2 separate regions of the Homo sapiens genome follow, and region 2 is linked to region 1. The links are contacts of gene promoters, found by promoter capture Hi-C in blood cells and fetal thymus (Javierre and others, 2016). All regions are on one chromosome and are shown on one strand. The core of a region is centred on a gene start or on the middle of the fragment in contact, and the rest is flanking DNA. Distances in the headings are between cores, read along the strand shown. Region 1 overlaps LINC01798 (long intergenic non-protein coding RNA 1798). Region 2 holds the start of EHBP1-AS1 (EHBP1 antisense RNA 1).

Region 1 (6,438 bases), core at 1,707-4,206:
AATAAGAAGATCGGAAGAGGATGCTGACTGACTTCGTCTTGGCAGGTTCCGGATCTGCCTGAGTGGTCGCAGAGTGCAGGTGGGGAGAGCAGTTCTGGGAGGCCGCCCCCTTAAAGGCCAGCCGGTGACTATGATTGCAGCCAGGGCGTCAGGTGGAACCTACACCTGAGGCCGCCAGCTCTCTTCCGACCTTGGCGGTCAACGAGCAAGGTCATCTTTAACTCCATCACCTGGCCAGGGGGGTGTTTACCTGGCTCCCAGAGAGAGAAACCGAGGGCCAAGAGAGGCGGGCATGTCCCAAGGTGCCAGGAGGGCTCCCCTTGGGGTCCATCCGGCTGGGGAGGACCCATGCCAGATCCGGGACAGTAAACTTTTGGACCATTGTGCATATTTCAAAATGATATTAACATACTTCCTATACTGCTCCCCTACTGGAAGTCATAATTACAACTCACCCTTCTCTTTGTCCACCAGAATCGCTTTGAGCAGTCCCAGCAAGTCAACCTACTTTGGGCATGCGTTTTGCATTTTGCAGTGCCCCCATCCCTCCCCAGACCTATATGTCAAGGAATAGGGAGCTGAGACATGACACGTTAATGTTTTTAACAGGGGATGCTCTCTGCTCCCACAGAAAAGGAGGGAGACCCTGAGGAGAGGGCGGCCGAGAGGGAGAGGGAAGGAATCACGGCGCCACTCCTGCGGAAATTCATATTCCGTGTATGTTCCTCCGTCACCTGAAATAAATCCTGCCGGCCTACCCACACAGACCCAGCAGCACTTATTTATTTGCATGTCATGCTTATAATATGGTAGAAAGCAAGACGGATCTTCGAGGAGGGGAGGGGATGAGGCTCACCCTTCAGGCTCACTCTCTTAAATAAAAAAGAATTGACCGGCTGGGCGCATAAGAATTTATCTTGAGTTTGTGGTCATTATCTCTATTATATAGCCCCGGCAATAAATAAATCGGGTAGTTACTACCCAACAATAAAACTGTAGTGTATGGGACACCTTACTATTACTTTCTTAATAATCTGCCGTTTCTTTCACTTTAAATCTTCCCAGTCATGTCTTCACACTCGTCTACAAGGATCTATCTTCACCCCTTGAGGTACCAGACCGCTCGGATCATTTTTATATGTTGTGAACACAATAAGTTTTCCTGCCTAGACTTTCTGTTTTTCCTCCTATTTCTAGGCTGCCTAATCTGCTTCAAGACAAAGGGTCGGCCCAGATCAAATGTGTTTTTTCCTCCTCTCTATTTCAATCACGTTGGGCGTCCAAGTTAATGAAGATCGCCCTACATGCGGCAGCCAGCTACGGGGCCGCTAGGAAAAAGGGAGCAACGCAGGGTCCAGGAGACCCAGTCCCGGGAAGATGATCTGTGCTTCCGCGGTGGGCACGCCCTTGGGCGCGCGCGGGGTCCAAAGGCCGAGTTGGAGAAGCCCTGCCTAGGGTAGTTCTACCTCTCAAGACCCTCAACCCTATTCTTGATTGTGTGTGTGCCCATGGAGGGATTTCTGGGGGTCTTGACCCCTCCTACTTCTCGCAGCTCGCCCCCTGACCCGGGCACAGCGCGCTACCCGCGGACGCAAGCGCGAGCAGCGTGGACCCGCCAGAGAAGTCGGTCCTCGCTCAAGTGCGGGCTCCCCTGCGTCCGCGGTCATTAAAACCTCACGAGGGGGGCTCGGCCTAGGGAGCAGACGCATGGGTAGGAGTTGGGGAGGGAGGCGTCCTGAAAGGTTCCCAGACCCGCGGGCTGGGGAGAGAGCCTCTGCGCTCACACCTGGGGCTCGCCTCCTGCGCGCAACTGTTAGTTACGCGGCTCCCACCCCAGTTCCTACTGGCAGCCAGGCGGGAGGCGCAATCTGTTCGGAGCCAGAGCCTTGCAGAGCCCCAGGGCCCCCAGCCCGCGGGGAGAAGGAGCCTAGCCGACGTCCGGCCGGCGCCTTCCAAAAGCAGCTCCACATTTGCTTTCACGCCAGCGCGGAAAGTGACCCGTCCCCGCAAAGCGGACAGCAAATGACCGCCTCATCCGCGGAGCCACCCCGGCAGGGCGTCTGGGGAGGTGCGCGGGGAGACGAGAAAAGGGACAGTGGGGCGGCGGGGAAAGAAAACAAACAGACCTGCATCGCTCCCCCTTTTGTCTTTACACTGCTTATCTCAAGAAATCAACTCAACAACACTCAACAACAACAAGCTGCCACCAAGCTTGTTTTTGTTTGTGTGACTTAGATCACAGATAGAACTAGGGACCAAACCTCCAAGTGTGTGTGTGTGTGTGTGTGTGTGAGAGAGAGAGAGAGAGAGAGAGAGAGGAGAGCCGCAGCGAGGCTACTGATGGTGAAGGGACGGTGAACTTCTCACCTTTCTTCAACTCAGAACAACACGTCCTTTAAAAAAATTCCGCACCGCCGAGTGTGTGAGTGTATGTGTGTGTGTTTCGCTGTTAATTGCATTTTGCTGGGATGATCTTTTACGACTCGAAAACAAGCAGCTGGGAAAATATTCACGTTTGGGACAGAAAACATTTTTTATTTATATCTTTGACATTTAAAAGAGCAGAATTAATTTGTCCTGTCTACATTAGCATTGAGAGAAAGTTTCAGAAATCTACCCGGGGGGAAAGGGAGGGGGGGAAAAGAAAAAGAGAAAAAAGAAAGCGAAGAAAGGAAAAGAAAAGCTAGGCTTGGTTTTTCTTATTTCAGATCTGTAATCAATCATTGAAATAGGAGGCAGCAAAACTGTAAAGATTCGATAGATTAAAATGCAAATGAAAGGTAGAAAAAGAAACATTAACATGGCGATCAAAGATTTAATAACCATAAATCAAGTTTTTTTTCTGTTGCAGCTGCAGTTTGTGTGTTTATGTTTTAATCATGTTCGTTCCATAAATAAATAATTTTGAAACGAGACTAATTTTTCATTATTTTAACAGTGGGCTACAACACTAAATATTAAAAATAGAAAGAGTATATGATGCAGATCCCCAACCAAATAAGAGAAAGACTTGTGTTGATTGGTTAAAATCAAGGGGTTTCAATTTTATGTTTTGAAAATCAGAGTATTATGCTAAAAAATTCTATCTTAACTGACAAAGCCCAAAGTTTTATTTTCTCTTTAATATTTTATGTTAACGACAAGATACCATTTATATTAAATATATGCATGGCTACGTATCCATTCCAGTCTGAGCATTTTCAAAGAACGGAAGTGTCAGAATATTAAATAATACAAACATATATTATTTCAAAGTGCCTTGACAGAATTTCTGGAAAATAATACTCTTTAGGATAATCTGCCTTCCAGAGAAAAAAGTGATGGTTCAACACAGTTAAAACTTTTCTAGCTTTATTATTAAAGTTATTTTTCCAAGGGGGAATATTTTAGCCGTTTGTTTTATTATTCAATTTAAGGTTTTATGTCAATGTGTCAAATTATCAGAGCACACTCTAAGTACTCATTTTCTCAACTATAATGAAAACTTTTCATTTAGATCTTTTTATGTAAAACATTAATTTATATCGTTAATTTAGAAGTATCTAGAACTTAAAAAATAAAACACCTGAACTTAGTTTCTCTCTCTCTCTCTCTTTCTCTCTGTCAACATCTTATTAACATAGAGAGGACATACATTTTCAGAAAATTTGAAACTTTTTTTTTCTGCTAATACAGACTTGCAATGTTTAAAATAAGCTTTTTGCTTAATTCTGCTTTTGAAGGAATGATTCCCCCTAGTATACTAAAATGATGGGTTAGAATTGTTTCAATTTCTCCTCTTTCCACAAATGATCACCAAATATGGAATACATATTTCCTTTCTGAAACCTTTAAGTTAAATGTGAGCTAAGTTTATGTCCACTCGCCGCCCCCCGCCCCCCCCCCCGCAGCCGAACAATCACGTTTTCACTGTGACAGTCCAATAATGCATTTAGTTTAAAATTACAATTACACTTGGACCTTTTCTCCTTTGTATTTTTTCATTTACTTCAGTGCAACAAGATGACTTGATTTCCATAGGATTACACGAACTCTATTCAGTGTTACTGGGATATTTCTGCTCAACTAAATGCTTGCCTTAATAGACAAATGAACTTCTTTTTATTTGCTGGAGTTTGTAGATGGTTTTAGATAACAGTGTGCAACTGATTTAGTTATTGTTGTTGTGAGAATCGAACAGCCACAAAAGTCATTTCTCTAAACTGAAGAGATATGACTCTGTAAAAAGGAGAAGCAAGGGCAGAATCATGGGGAATTATTTCAGTTTATAGCTATTATTAATTAAACTGGATGTGGTTTTATTCTGATCTTTTAGTACCGACCTTGTTAAAAGCTCCCAGCTACCTGCCTTTTTCCCCTCATCCCCAATTTTTTTTCTATTTATTAGGACTCATGTGGATTGGGATTGCCTTTTCTGTATTATATTACCAAGCAGTTACAGTGTAAAATCTCATGCACCTTCAGACGATCGCACCCCTCCCAGGGGGAAAAAAAAAAAAGAAATGCTTTTTTTTCATTCAGTTTTAGCATCTTGTTTCGTTGAAATGCAAGACAGGTACTTGATTTAGCATTTAAGCAAAAGGTTACACAAACCGCGTTTTAGAAAGTGTTGGGATGTCCGACAGGGTCAGCCCTAGATCAGATCATTTTTTGAATGCAGACCTAAAGATAATGAGTACTTGTTGTATTAAAGGGGACAAACAGTACTTTGGCTTCCTCTGACCCCAGAATGCACGGCTCGGTTTCATTGATCATCCTCCTTTATGAGATAATGCAATTACAAACATCAATAAGGGGCTGCAAGGGGAATCATTATGCGGTGACAGTGATAAATGACGGTGCAGAAATAGCATGCTTTTCCCCCCTAACAATCCAGGAGCCCAGGGGCTCCGGGGGCTGAACACAGTCGCCAAGGAAACAGATGACATCCCAAACGGCACCAAAAGAAAAAAAATGAACAGTCTTTCTTTGCCTTTCACTCTTTTCCGTCTTCCAAAGAGTTAGTTTTGGCTCAAGCAGCAGCTGCTACACAAGGCATTTCGTTATTTCAAACATTAAAGACTGGAACGGGCAGTGGGAGTCTCCTCCCCTTTCATCCCCACCCCCACTAGATAACACACAAAGCTCGCTGTTCACAGTTTAGGACTACCTGAAAATGCACGTCTCAAAAATCAGATTGGGATGGGGTGGAGGGGCGTCGGGAACGTGGATTTGCACAGCCCTTGCGTTGTGTTTCCCCTGCTTTTGTCCAGTGGAAACTGAGTCTCCAGAACAAGCTGGCGCCTCGCGGGTCGGCCAGTAAGGGAACGGGTGCGCGTGGCTCGCCTCCATCTCCCCGCAGTGCCAGACGCTGCTCTGTGCCAAGGCGGGGGCTGAGGAGCAGGCGACTGCTGGGGGTGTTTGCTGCTGTGCTGGGTTTCTTTGGGATGGAGTTATCAATGGGCGCAGAGATCGTCCCTAAATCGAGAAATCTGGTTCTTTAAAGCCTCAGGGTGCCCTCAGCAAGCGGCTTCAAAAGGGCCTCACTGAACATTCCCCACCCCACCCATGCCCAGAAAGGTGGGCGAGGTAGATGGGCGCAAAAAGGCGTCGGGCTACCAGACTTCTGCGACGGCCCTGAGGCAGCGGGGGACTAGGAGAGGGGCAGAACCTCTGGACACTAGGTGGAGAAGGGGAACTTGCCACTTTGGGGGAGGGGAGGAGGAAGAAAGAGTACTGAGATGTGAGGGAGGCCTAGGAAGAAAGGCAGAGGGAGGGGAGAAGGAAAGCAAGCAAAAGCAATCCCACCCTTACAGGAGGTCGTCACCCCGCAGAAAACAGACACAGGGTTTCTGACCCCTGCCCGGTCCGCCTCGGCGTGGAGCTAGGGACCCCCGCTCGGCGCTCCCTGCCACACACGGCCCCCACCGGGAGGAGCGGGCCAAGCGGGTGCCTGAAGCAGGTGACTTTATTCACTGCTTCCCCAATCGGCGAGGTCCCGGGACTCGTTTTCCGCCTGGAAATTAAGATCATTGCTCGCGTAATGACCTTAATGCTTTAGGGTAGAGGTGAGTGTGTCTGCGAGTGGGCAGGGGTAGAAATTACCGACCCGATCGATGGGAGACTGGCTTAAAACTAAATCCCTTTTCTCCAGGGCTGCACCGCCCGGGTTTCCCCTCAGTGGGCTGAGAGCGCCGGGATGTCAGGAGGCAGCGCGCGGAGGGGTGACCCGTGGGGCGCGGCAAGCCAGAATCAAGGCCCTAAAAATGCTTCCCCCATCTCCCCACTGAGACCCCCAGGGTACTATTTTCAGAGCAAAGGCGCTTTAAAGCTCAAATGTTGGCGAACTGATTGCTCAATACGTTGTTTGTTTTTCCTTTCAGCTCCGCCTAGGGAGAGAATGTTTCAGACTCCTTGGCGGGTAGAGCGGGCCGAAAAGGGAGCCCTCCCTCTCCCAGC
Region 2 (6,438 bases), core at 1,458-3,957, 3.5 Mb after region 1:
GAATTACCCTGGCGGCTGGTCTAGGACCCCCAGGTTTCTTTCTTTTCCCAACTTCCTTCTTCCCACCTCTATCTTTTTTTTCAATGGCTTTGTGCGTGTCCTTCTGGGTTTCACTTTATTGCACAGACACTTTGTTTGCTAAGCCCCACACGTTCTCAGGACATTGCCTCGCCTGGGATCGCGCCGAGGGGCCGCAAGGGGGGGAATTCGAGGGGCAGAGTTGGGAGGTGGCTCGGCGTTGCCGCGGCACTCCCGGTGCAACGTGGAGGCAGTGGGGACTGGGAAGTCCTGCAGAGTCACTTTGCAAACTAAATAAATCAAGCGATTTACCTTGTCGGAGTGGCTTGTCTTGCTCGGTTGTTTAGGTGATTGGAAATGTAGCCTGATGAAGATTGATCACCTTTCTACTGCCCTCCCCGGGTATGTGAACGCGAGGCGAGTGCGTAACGGGGCTAGGCCGCCAATCGGGGGCCCCGCGCGGGCTGAGTGACAGGGAGCCGGGCAATGGCTGCGCGAGCCGGGGGTTACCTCCGCGCGCCCCCGCCCTCCCCCGCCCCCCACACCCCGCCCTCCCCGCCCTCCCGCCCCGCCCCGGTCGCGCGCTAACTCCGGGACTCGGCTGGCAAAAGCGGCGCAGAGCTAGGCGAGGAAGGCGAGCGGAGAGCCCGAGTCCTGGCCGCGGAGGGGGCCGTGGGTCTCCAGGCCTGCCCTGGGCGCCCCCGCCCTTCTCGCGCTCTCGGCGCTCCGGAGGGAGTGGCAGGGAGGAGGCGAGGTGCTGGAGAACCGGTTCCTTCGCTCTCCCGCGCGCTACAGGGCTCAGCCGCTCGGGTGTGGGCGCCAGGACCCGGGGGCGGCGGGCTGGAGGAGCCCGGGCCTCGGCCCCTCTCCCGGCGCCGCGGGCCCCAGCGTTTTCTTCCCCGGCGCCGCCACCTGAGACCGACGCCGCGGGCTGCTCGTGCCGGCGCAGGCTACTTTGCAGAGCGCGGGAGCAGCTCCGGGCGTGCAGATCTCTCCTCGGCCCCTCCGGACTCTCGCGCCTGGGAAGAGCACCCACTGGGAGGGCGCCGCCACTTACCTGCTTGCTCGTCGGCATCTCCCGGGGTTCCAGGTCCCCACCAAGGGTGTTTGCAAGTCTTAAGCGCTTCTACTGAAACGTTGGAGCCCAGCGTCCTCTTCCCCTCACACGTACACCCTACTTCTTAATTGAAACATTTTGATAGGAAAGTTTCTTTTTCGCTCTTTCTCTCTCTTTCTTAGACTGCCTCTAACAGGGACTTTTTGATGGAAAATGTGGCCACAGACCCCTGCCCTCAACTTTTTTCCACATGCTGCGTAAGGATCCTCCTTGAGGCGATTTCCCCGGATTGTTCGTACGGGCGAAGCCCATTTCCCACCCGAAAAAACTTCCCAAACACGTCTACCTGGGTGGACTTTTAAAAGTGCAAAAAAGAGTTTTCGTTCCAACTCTAAGCTAGGCGAATCTTTTAAATGGCACCTCCTCCTGAAAATTAGGCACTTTATTCCCTTTCGAGGAATTTCTACCCCTTGTTTCTAATCTCCCCCACTCCCCCACCCCGACAGGCGGGGTAAAAAGTTTGCACAGGATTAAGTGTGAGGGCAAGTCAAGGAGCCTCCAGGCGCATCGCAGTGGGGAGCACTCGCGCTGCCCGGGCTGCGGGGTCGGGCGCCGAGAGCGGACCGGGCGCTGGGTGAGGAGGAGGAGAACGAAGGGGGAGCCCGCTGAGTGAAAAGGGGCCGCGGCCGCCGCTCATCAAAGTGCTTCCCCCTCCCCCAAGCGACACTTTCCTTTGGAGTCCGAATAAAATACGGTAACAGAATATGATGGAGGGCACACTGTTTCCTTAACTGCTTCTCAAAGGACCCGGGAGATCTTCTTAGGACCTTTAATAAGGCTTTGGTCGGTTCTTTTGTTGATCTCTCAAAATCAACTCCTTCTAATTGAAGTTGGAGCTGAAAGCGAGCTAATGTTCAAAGAAAGTGGCCGCCAGACCAACGAAATTACATTTTTTTTTTGACGATGAGGGAACATCTAATCAAAGAGGCAGGGGAGGAGGGGTGGGAGTGGGGGCGTACGAAGGAGAAAAGGAGGTTTTACAAGATCCTTCTCTGGTTCACAAAAGTCAGCGACACGGGCGCTTCTCTACAGAACAAAGACACCGCGGCCCATTCACAAAAGGGAGAGAAAGAGAGAAAGCTGAATAAAAGAACGAGAGAAATGGGGAAAAAATGAGAGAGAGAAGGAGGGAGAGAGTGAGTGAGAAAGAAGCTTTAAGAGGAAAAGAAACAGTGCAGAGCGCAGCGCTAACCCAGGCGGGGACACACCTTAGGCTCGCGCAGGCCCCTACCAGGAGTAGCCCGCGAGGCCCGCGGTCAGCCGCCCGCGGCTCGGAGCCACTGTGATCGTGCTGAGGTTTAAAGAAAGCAACGAAATATACCCCTTCCTTAGGTTCCGAGGAAAGGCGCCGGCTGGAGCGCACTAGTTTTGGGGGAAAGAATATGCGGACGTCCCGGGGTGCGCTTCGCCGGCGTCCGCGTCCATAGCCCGGCGCTGCCCTAGTCCCGGCCAGTCCGCTGTGTGCCGGGGTTGGCCCTCCAGTGCCGGGGCGCGTGACCTTGCCCCATTCCTCCACCTTAACTCATTCCTCCCTCCACCAGGCCCTGTTTCGCCTGCAGCCTCAGCACCTGACCTGGGTCCGGCGCAGCGAGGTGGGACGGCAGTGCGCTCTGGAATGTGCCAGCGCGGTCCCCGGGGTACGCCTCGCGGGAGGCCGGCGCTCTCGGTTCCAGATGCTGCCACCATTCTCGGGGAAGTTGGGAGGTATCAAGTAGCACGGATTTTTTTTTTCCTAATTAGAGTATTTATCTAATCCCAAATTGCAGGCGAATTTTCTTAACGCTCAGCCCATAAAACCCCAGGATTAAGAAAAGAAAGAGGAGAGGGGGAGAGGGAGGAGAGTGGAGAGGGAGAGAGACTGGGATGAAAGTTTCTTGAAAGCAGCGCAGAGGATTGAGGCGGCCGTCGCTAGGCAAATGTCCAGGTGGGAGATGCTGGGCCAGAAGCCATGACCGTTCCAGCATCGGCCGCGGTGCGGGAAGGGGAAGTGGGGACACCACTGGAGGAGGTGAAGCCGTCCAGCTCAAGGCCCTCGAGCCGGGAAGGGGCGAGGGAGCTGGGTGTGGAGACAAGGATCCAGCATCCAGGTGACCTCCAGGCCCGGCCAGGCTCTGGAGGACACTTGGGACAAGGGGAGGGCTTTGGATCTGAGGCCGAGGGATCTGACCAGGGGCGGAAGTTCTGCTCCGGCCCGCAGACTGTGCCCAAGCAAGCCCGCTGCCAACGCCCCTGCTCCTCTGCGACCCTCGGACCGATAGTCTCTTTTCCCGCAGCGCGGGCTTTCGAGTTCCGGGTCCTCCGGCGTGCTGGGCTCGTGCCCGTTCTCGGGAGCCAGCGTCTGGGCACCACGCAGCGATGTCCGGATGCAGCGCCCTTGCCGCGGGCCTTACCCCGCCAGGCGCCGGAGTCCACGCTCCACCGCCGCTGAGGGGCGTTCGGGCGCCACCGAGCAGCCCAAATTGAAACCCCGAGAGGCTCGGGACTAAAGCTGAAGGGGCAGGTAGAGGGGCCGCCCGGCGGTCCCAGACCATCCTAGCAAATCTGGGGCGAGGGAAGGGTTGTCAGTTGGCCGATTGGGAGCGGCTTCGGGAGCGAAGGAGCTGCTTTTCGGCGAGGCCCCTCGGGAGTGAAGGTTCCTCGAATCAAGCGTAAACTGGGTGGGTGCTGTTGGCCGCCCAGGCCCCAGGCTGCTTGGGGCGGGCGATTTCTGTCTGCTGAGTTTTCCCGGGGTTAGAACGGGATTCTGAGAGCGTTCCCCAGAGAGCAGCAGCTCTCTCTCTGCTCTCGTGCTCGAATAAAGAGGGCAAATACCGACTTCATTTACTTAAAATAACTTTTCAATAACTTAAAAGAAATGCTCATCATGAAGGAATTCTACCGTAGCAAGTTTTTATCATTTTGAAAGACTGGCAACTGGAGGTGGCTGCATACTTGGAACGAAATTTGTTTGTGTGCACATACATACGATCTACGCTGAAGTATAAATGCTAGTGGACTTTTTTCTCTAAGTTTCTGGACTTGTTGAACAAGCTTTCTTTGTTTGGACACCCCTGTGGGGGAATGAAGGAAACTAGCATAGAATCGCTTTTTTTTTTTTTCTGTAGCCTAGAACTTCTTGTTAAAAGTTCTCTTTCCCTCATTTCATACACACATACCTGCATACATTCTCCCCGCCCCCCAACAATAACCCTCTTCCTTTCACTTCAGTACCTACAGACTTGCCGGTTATCAGAAGACACGACTCTCCCTAATACGACTTCAAAACTCTAACAATTCAAAGTAATGACGTGGAAAATTCAAGATATAAATATTGGTTTTTCATTGGTGTGGAATCACAAATTTCCTCAAATCTTTAGCAGAGATGACCCTTTACAAAAGACATGATAGTTTATACTGCTTAAGAATATGACTAATTACTTTTCAATTCGCATTCGTGTGTCAGTAGGGCCCCCTCTGGGATGGTGTAAACTTATTCAGCTTCAAATGCAGCCCAGTATCCTGCCCTAAGTTCCAGAGGACCATTTTCCACATGAAAAGTCTTACGGATAGACAAACTTCCATTCAAGCCAATGTCAAGTTTTCATTGCAAGAAAGTAGCAGCCGTGTTTAAGGTAAGAAAGTTTCTGCTTTTATTGAAAATTTATATATGACTCAGTATTGTAATAAATAAACATAACCATTTTCACAAAAAATGACAGTGCTATGCTAAAGAAGAAAATATTAAATGGGGGATTTACTTGTAGTGGCAAGACAGACTTTTTATCAATACAGAATAAATATTAACAGCATTCGTGAGCCAATGTTGAGACCCAACAAAATGTAGGAATCAAGCATGATGTAAGAAATAATTATCCAGAGAAAAAGATGGTGTATTCTCGGATGATAAGACTGTCTTTGTAAACTGGTGCATATCAATTAGTCCCATCCTCACAGCTCACCTTCAAACCACAGGGCTTGTTTCTGGCTATGTTAAAGGACCATCCTCTGAGGAAAGCAGAGGAGAGGAACTCCATTATCCTTACAGTGAAACGCAACCACTGCAGAAAAACTCCACTGGTAAATAGAACACAGTTTAATAAGTAGATTGGATATGATCTAACTATAAAATTTAGGTAACAGAGTAAGTGTTACATGTGGCAGGACCGGAAAAAAATCATGACATTTTTCTTATCCCCTTGTACCCCTCCCACTGTCATTATGCTATTACCAACAACAACAAGAATAATGTTTCAAATTTTCCTCTCATCAAAAAATGAGAGAAAATAACGAGGGAAGTGTTTTTGTTCTTTTTCGAACAGTTTCTTGAACACCTCCAATACCAATCACTCACAAGGTGTCTGTGCAAATCTATTTCACAGGATTTCAAGGAAATTGTTAACTCACAAAAAAATCCTTAAATGAAGCTATTTTGGAGTTCTGTATATTATTTGGAAAGGAGGGAGGAAAAGGGTGGTGGTGGTAAAGTAGAGGTAAAGTAGTACAATCCAGCCAAACAAAATGTTAAAAGTTTTAAATCAACAATGAGTCTGACTTTTTCTGGTTTGGGAAGCAAGACTCTAAAATGTTGGGAGAGATTCTTTCTGATCTGATGGCTACTGAAGAACACATTTCTCCTCTTTCTTGGCCATCTTGCCTTTGTTTTGCTCCAGAGTTCGCTCCAAATGCTCATCTTCTTCTTCGGCCCTGGATGTCAGACAAACAGGACAAACAGGAAACAAAATTATTTTTCTTCGTGGAGGGCAGAGCAGCACTCCCCCGTCGCCCAGTATTTGGATCCCCAGCGGGAATGGGGAGCACCAGGCCAGTGGGAGGCTGCCCCGGCCCTCCCGCGACCTCTGGATTGAACTTTCCGCACACTTCTCGGCCCCTCGGCAGGTGGCCCAGCCTCGACCCGACCCCACTGCCCACTCACTGCTTCTCCTGCGCGTCCAGGTCCCTGACGAGCGCATCGCGCTTGTTCACCAGGGCCACCAGCTCATCTAGCAGAAGCTGTTCGCGTCGCTTCTGGGCCTCGGTCTTCTGCCAGTCTGCAGAAGACGGGAGGCTAGTTACCCACCGGCAGGGCCTCCGAACACCCGGCCCCCCGCCCTCCCCTTCCCGCCTTTTCCAGTTTCCTTATATTTCTCAGCAAACCACATTATAGAGCCACTAGCTAGTGTTTTCTGGGGAGTTTGGCTGTTGTGGTGAAGGCTTCCTCGCTAAAAGTCTACTTCCTAAACAGGTCCTGTGAATGGAGATGGCTGCAGCAGTGTTGGAACCTGCTTAGAACCAGGTGTGAACTGGTGGCTAGCCTGAGGTGCGCA

The links. The method cuts DNA at HindIII sites, captures the fragments that hold promoters and counts their contacts. A CHiCAGO score of 5 or more calls a contact.
Region 2: a contact is called between the fragment with the promoter of EHBP1-AS1 here and a fragment that was not itself captured in region 1, in 2 of 17 cell types (naive B cells and total B cells). The highest score is 13.5, in naive B cells.

The regions. Positions count from the first base shown.
Region 1 is chr2:66,577,105-66,583,542 of GRCh38, reverse strand. All of the region lies in intron 1 of LINC01798 (long intergenic non-protein coding RNA 1798), which reads right to left. Among named protein-coding and RNA genes, the nearest start is that of LINC01798, 6.3 kb to the right of the region's middle. RefSeq lists an enhancer at 3,700-5,309. The HindIII fragment of the contact is 1,485 bases long and covers 2,214-3,698 here.
Region 2 is chr2:63,044,790-63,051,227 of GRCh38, reverse strand. EHBP1-AS1 (EHBP1 antisense RNA 1) reads left to right here and starts at 2,707. Exons shown (of 4, transcript NR_033389.1): 1 at 2,707-2,839; 2 at 4,578-4,746; 3 at 5,087-5,191; 4 at 5,785-6,438. It overlaps EHBP1 (EH domain binding protein 1), which reads right to left. Exons shown (of 23, transcript NM_001142616.3): 22 at 6,048-6,162; 23 at 4,741-5,818. The coding sequence ends at 5,728. OTX1 (orthodenticle homeobox 1) reads right to left here and starts at 398. Exons shown (of 5, transcript NM_014562.4): 1 at 331-398. RefSeq lists a silencer at 373-1,032 and enhancers at 1,149-1,896, 1,897-2,646, 1,260-2,668, 2,647-3,395, 5,505-6,438. The HindIII fragment of the contact is 1,878 bases long and covers 2,290-4,167 here.